Linked DNA regions of Homo sapiens: region 2 is linked to region 1. Evidence: promoter capture Hi-C in 16 types of primary human blood cells and fetal thymus (Javierre and others, 2016). All regions are on one chromosome and are shown on one strand. The core of a region is centred on a gene start or on the middle of the fragment in contact, and the rest is flanking DNA. Distances in the headings are between cores, read along the strand shown.

The links. The method cuts DNA at HindIII sites, captures the fragments that hold promoters and counts their contacts. A CHiCAGO score of 5 or more calls a contact.
Region 2: a fragment that was not itself captured here is called in contact with the fragment with the promoter of GSAP in region 1 in 2 of 17 cell types (monocytes and M1 macrophages); the score reaches 7.9 in monocytes.

Annotation. Positions count from the first base shown.
Region 1 is chr7:77,414,750-77,418,062 of GRCh38, reverse strand. GSAP (gamma-secretase activating protein) reads left to right here and starts at 1,714. Exons shown (of 31, transcript NM_017439.4): 1 at 1,714-1,850. The coding sequence starts at 1,742. It overlaps LOC101927243 (a long non-coding RNA gene), which reads right to left and starts at 2,865. Exons shown (of 5, transcript NR_110073.1): 1 at 2,715-2,865. RefSeq lists silencers at 1,419-1,768, 1,989-2,198, 2,259-2,548. The HindIII fragment of the contact is 1,753 bases long and covers 513-2,265 here.
Region 2 is chr7:77,447,623-77,450,935 of GRCh38, reverse strand. No RefSeq gene overlaps it. Among named protein-coding and RNA genes, the nearest start is that of GSAP, 33 kb to the right of the region's middle. The HindIII fragment of the contact is 2,796 bases long and covers 226-3,021 here.

The DNA.
Region 1 (3,313 bases), core at 465-2,964:
CTCTTCTTCCATTCTGATTTCTGGAATGCAGACGTGAAGGCTGAAGCTTCTGCAGCCCTCTTTGATCATGAGGACAAGGGTACACTCAGGATCAGGTGGAGCAAAGAACTGGAAGGAGCCTGGGTCCCTGATAAATTCAGGAACCTGCCCTAAGAGCTTTATTCTGCCTACGTCCAGCTAGGTGACAGAATAAAACTTGTGTGTTTAATTTACTGTTAATCTGAGTTCTTATTAACTTCTGGAGAATCTAATCCTAACTGATACACATGCCTTCATATAGCACCCTCATGATTTTGGCCACATCTTTCTATCATTATCTTATTGTTTCTCACCTTCTTTACATTGGCTTTTTCACTTAATTTGAAGAGAATTTTTTATATCATCACTGCTTGACTATAAAATCAGTCCTGCCTGGCAAAAATAGAAGTTAACTGCAAAAATAAAAACAATGGAAATGTACTGACTTTAAAAAATTGGCCAACAGTGTTTCTGTATGACAAAGGCAACAAGCTTATTTGATATGAAATAGTTGCATTAGCTCCTTGGGGGCTCCAGTGGCCTTCCTTTTATTCACTGATAATATTAGCAGCTTCATTAGGCATTTATCTTAAATTTGCATGCACTTCCCGGGTGGGAGGACTTTCCTCTGTATATGGTGGTGAGTAATGGAGTTCTACCTGAAATCATCCATTACCTCAGTTGGAGAAACATGTCTCTAGGAGGGAAAAAAATTCAAGACTTTCTTTTACATTTGGTTGGAGTAGTTTTCAAACTTAGTAAGCCTAAGAATCACCCGAGGCTCTGGGTAAAATGCACGTTTCTGGTCTTGTCCAGGTGTAGAGATCAGGAGTCTGCATTGTAAAATAGTGCCCCAGATGACGTCAATACAAGTAGTTTTCAGACCTTAATTTCGGAAGCATGTGAAAAAGCATTCTTTATTACTGTATTCACTCATTCTTCAGTAATTGTCGAGCACCTTCCAGAGTGCTCTGTTAGACCCTGGTGGGAGGCAGAGGGTTTGCGTGGAGACTTAAGATTCAGTTTTCATGTCTCAAGGCATCAAATGAGATGTACTAGAGTTAAAAGGCAAAAAGGACGCTGTTTGTATCAAGCGCATTAACCCCTTTTAGCGTTTCTCTTACAATGGGATCACCTTCGTCATACGCTCCCAGTTGCTACTCATTACCTTAATAACACTAATAAAGCACCACCACCTCGAAGCTGGGGCGAATAGGCCCAAGAGACGGCCTACTTCTGTGGTGACCCTGAACTGCTCCAGAGGACCCAGCTCTCTCAAGCCAAGTGGTTTCCACACTTTGCTGCACAGTGGAGGCACTTGTAGAATAAAGAAAATAGGCCGACCCTCCAGGTTTGGAAGCCACTGGGCTAGCGGCCTCGCCAAGGCCCTGAAGCGCCCACGTCTTTGCGCCCTCTATCCTCAGCCCCGAAGGTGCGCGCGGAGGCCTCCCGCCCCGGCGGGCCTGGTCCTGGCGCCTGGTCCACCCCGCCCCACCGCTACCCGCCGTGCCCGGCTCCGGCTCCGGCTCAGGTGCGGGCCGCCGGCCGGGAGGAGCTGGTGCCGGAGCTTCTCAGGCCAGGGCGCTGCAGAACCGAAAGCAGCAGGGGGCGGGGGAGAGGAAAGAGGGGGCGGGAGCGGGGACGCGAGGGCGAGGCGGCCACGCGGGGCCGGGAATGCCCGCGGTGCGGGGCCCCAGAGCCGCCCGGTGGTCGTGTCCGGGCGATGGCTCTTCGCCTGGTCGCCGACTTCGACCTCGGGAAGGACGTGCTCCCGTGGTTGCGGGCGCAGCGGGCAGTGTCGGAGGCCAGCGGGGCCGGAAGCGGCGGCGCAGGTGCGGGAGGCGCGCTGCGGAGAGGGGTGGGGGCGGGGAGTGGGAGTCCCTCATACCCCCCGGACTCCGACCCGGTGGGGAGCAACCCGGGGCGTCGCCGCCCTGAGAAGGCTGGTGCGAGGGCGTCGCTCCCCTCCTCAGAGGGCTGTTTTGGCTTTGCCACCCACACCCAGCCACGGCGGAAGGTCTGGGGGCAGAGCCCGGGCCAGGTCGCCGTGGGGCCTGAGGCGCCTGGCTCGCTGCCGGCCCGCGGAAATTCGCCCTTGGCAGAGGGGCCGGGCCGCTGGCGGTTCCCTCAGCATCACCTCACGGCGAGGGCAGAGGGTCGTGCTCAGCTCAGCGGCCGCATCCCACCTCCCGGGGGGTTCATCGGCAGCGCAGGGGCTTTGCCAAGACAGGAGTGCTCCTGGAAGCTTCACGTTTTGAGAAAGAATCCGTGACCACCAAGCAAACCACCCTATACCTAACGGTGGAACAGTTTGTCCCCACATTTGCGAGACGTGTTTATGTGTCTGTTGAACCGTGTCCGTGGCTCAGGGGACATGGGCCTCGGCGGTGAGGCGCAAGAGGGCAGGGGCCGCCTCCAGGCTGCGCGCGGCGGGGCGAGAGCCCCCAGCCGCCCCCGAGCTCCGCACCTGTGCAGGCTGGGGCTGCGCGCGAGATGCTCGGCTCCCGGCCCTGCCACTCCGGGCTTTTTGATGATTTGGTAAGGGAGTGAAAGTGACTTTTGAGCCTTCCCAGCACTGATCTGTTTTAAAGAAGGGGAACTTTGTGATTTCTTACAAAGTTTTAAAAGTCTTCTATAAATATTGGAGCTTCAGAGCTTAAATGCAGCTTCAAAGCAATGATGCCTGTAGGTCTCACCTTGTGTGTAGGGCGCTGTCCACTTCAGTGAATTTGGAAGTGGGTATTAAATGACCCACATCTACAACTCCTTTCCCTTAAACGCTGGTGAAAGTTTTCTTGATGTGAGTTATATATCAAGTTGCTATCTTGTATCTTCACACTCTCCTATGACTATAGCGAAATTATTTGTAGGTTTCCTTGGCTTGGAATATTATTAGCTCCAAATAAGGAGTTATATGTTTGTGTAGCGTATGCATTGAGTTTGCATTAGTGTCATGCTTAGTAAGGCTTTACTTTTTTTCGAGGTGGAGAGGGTGGTCAAGGAAGAATTTTATACAAAAATTAGCTGGGCGTGGTGACACGCTCCTGTAATCCCAGCTACTCGGGAGGCTGAGGCAGGAGAATCGCTTGAACCTGGGAGGCAGAGGTTGCAGTGAGCCGAGATCTCGCCACTGCACTCCAGCCTGGGCAACAGAGTAAGTCTCCGTCTCAAAAAAAAAAAAAAAAAAAAAAAAAAAAAAAGTCGCCCACATGTCTGAAAAGTTTTTGAAGGCTTAACTTTTTGAAATACAACAGGCAGCTCTGTCTTCTACTACCAAGTACTCCTTTTTCTGGAC
Region 2 (3,313 bases), core at 374-2,873, 33 kb before region 1:
AGGCTTGAGCCACCGCGCCCAGCCCTTCTTGTCTTGATTCTATGCTTTCTTTTGGCCTTCGTTATTCATGTGATTCAAGGCTTGCTTTGAACTCCTGGATGTGTGTGCTCCATAACTCATGAAAGCTCTTTTGACTTCTAACTATTGGCTCTGTCTTGACCACTGGTTTCCAGGCAATGTCAGTGTCTCTGGGTTTGCTGCAGTCCTGTAGCTGTTCACAAAGCTTCATTGTTTTGGTCTCTATCATGGCATCTGATCCCATGTCTATGATCAGTAGCTAGCTAGGGTGATAAAATAACTGTTTTGTGGGTTCCTGAAGCATTAGATCTTAGCAGAATACATACGCTTATTTCCTTCTTCTGAAACAATATTTAAAAGCACTGTAAAATGTTTGAAATAAAATTTGCCCTGTTTTTATAATTTTTTATTGATGATGCTATGAGTATTTATTTTACTTTTTAAGCTGCATTTGTTTGTATGTTTGTTCTTTTGGAAAGAGGACTCTCTGGCTATTGGTGCTTTGAATGGAGGGAGGTACAAAATCATATTATATTGTTGGCTAAGGGATGAGATAAATTGAGATGTGTATTTGTTTCTCAAATTGTTTTATTCTTGGTCTAACTAAATCAGTGATGTGACACTTCAGAAAGGAATTCGGAGCACTTACTGGTGACTTATATTCTGAAGGACTGTGACTTCTACAGTGAAAAATATTTCAAAATTGGCATTCATTCAGGACTGAATCTTAGCTTTGATATAGTATCTGATATAGCCCCAATGTCTAGGAGGTAATTTTTATTACAAAAAAATACTTTATTTTGGAAAAAATAGAAATTTTAAGAATATTTAACATAATCTGAATGCATATTGAGTTTACAAAGGAACCAACTTGATTAAAAAATATTTGACTATTAAATGTGTAAGAATGTGAGCCTGTATCTATTATATGAGTTTTTATTCAATAAAAATCATCTGTGTCTATTGTATACATATGTATACAAATATAAAATTTCAGGGAAACATACACGCATACACAAATATATTTATTTATTTATTCTTAGGTATGTTGGCCCAGGATTCTACTGGATATAATTTTTGCATTATTACCTTAATCAAATCATACCTGTTAATTCATAAATGTTAACCTTAGAAGTGAAAGGTTGATAATGAAAATCTTTCAAAAGTGTACGATTTTGGCCAGGCACAGTGGCTCATGCCTGTAATCCTAGCACTTTAGGAGGCCGAGGTGGATAGATCACAAGGTCAGGAGATCGAGACCATCCTGGCTAACATGGTTAAACCCCATCTCTACTAAAAATACAAAAAATTAACCAGGCGTGGTGGCCTGAAGTCCATGCGCCTGTAGTCCCAGCTACTTGGGAGGCTGAGGTGGGAGGATGGGGTGAACCCGGGAGGTGGAAGTTGCAGTAAGCCAAAATCGTGCCACTGCACTCTAGCCTGGGTGACAGAGCGAGACTCCGTTTCAAAAAAAAAAAAAGTGTAGTATTTTGATTATTTATTGACTTATTCCGATATTTCAAAGTATTAACAGCTGTAAAAAAATGTGTAAGTTGTTTGTAACAACTCTTAAGGCAGTTGTAGAAGAAATGCTACTAAAACATGAGGTAAAATTACACAGATCACTAGACCCGAGAAAATGCAATGATATAGACAAACAATAGTCAAGAAAGAAAAGGAAGAATAATTGGAAATGAGAAGAAAAGTGAAACATCAAAGGATTAATCTAGCCGAAGCCCTGGAGAGATCACTGACCATCAGTCAATAAGAGTATGACATAGGAAGGCCGGGTGCAGCAGTCACACCTGTAAATCCCAGTATCTTGGGAGGTCAAGGTGGGCAGATTACCTGAGGTCAGGAGTTCAAGACCAGCCTGGCCAACATGGTAAAACCCTGTCTCCACTAAAAATACAAAAATTAGCCAGGTGTGGTGGTGCATGCCTGTACTCCCAGCTAGTCAGGAGGCTGAGGCAGGAGAATCGCTTCAACCCGGGAGGCAGAGGCTGCAGTGAGCTGAGCTGGTGCCACTGCACTCCAGCCTGAGTGACAGAGTGAGACTCCATCTCAAAAAAAAAAAAAAAAAAAAAAAGTATAACATAGAAAAAGGATGTTATAATTGTAAGCACTGCAATGACTTCATATATTAGTCTCACATCACTTATGCCTCTCATTCCATTTGATCTGACTGAGATATAGATTAGACTGTTGTATCAAATGGGGCCAACATACAATGACAAACAAGTAAAAGTCCAAGGTCTGTAAGGTGGCTTGGCAGTGTCTAGACCCAAGGCTGCTTCTAACTTGTGGTGTTACCATTTGGAAGGTGTTGTCTTCATCATCCACACTACTGAAGATGGCTCACTGCCATGTCAACTGGGTTTGTCAGAGGCATTTGAACCGGAGCAACTCCATCTTGAGTAGGAACTGGGTAAAATAAGGCTGAAACCTACTGGGCTGCATTTCTAGATGGTCAGGCATTCTAAGTCATAGGATGAGATAGGAGGTTGGCACAAGATTCAGGTCATAAAGACCTTTCTGATAAAACAGGTTGCAGTAAAGAAGCCGGCTAAAACCCACCAAAACCAAGATGGCCATGAGAGTGATCTCTGGTTGTCCTCACTGCTACACTCCCACCAGCACCATGACAGTTTACAAATGCCATGGCAACATCAGGAAGTTACCCTATATGGTCTGAAAAGGGGAGGCATGAATAATCCACCCCTTGTTTAGCATATAATCAAGAAATAACCATAAAAATGGACAACCAGCAGCCCTGAGGAATGGCCATTCTTTTATTCCTTTACTTTCTGAATAAACTCGCTTTCCCTTTACTCTATGGACTTGCCCTGAATTATTTCTTGCGCAAGATCCAAGAACCCTCTCTTGGGGTCTGGATTCGGACCCTTTTCCTGTAACACGTTCACATTGCAGTCTGTGAGAAAGAGAAGAGGGAATCAGAAGGCCTTATGAAACCTGACACAGGGAATGAAAGGGAAAGAAGCTTGACCAGCTGTCCAATGTTTTAAGAGTCATTAGATTTTGGGACTGAAACAGGCTCCTAAGGAATGCTGTGTCTTTCTAGGAAAAAAATAATCAGTCTCTGAGATGCCCTCACCCATCCTGTTTCTGTCCCTAAGAAGATGCCCTGGTGTGAAGGGAAGAGGGTTGTGGTTTATGTCCCCACTGATGTGGGATGAGTTGGGGAGATTTGGCTGCTCACCAGGTTTGATGATGTCTTTCCTGAGCACTACATGAAAATCAAGGGGGGAAAAAAAAGAAAAAATCAAGGAGACTC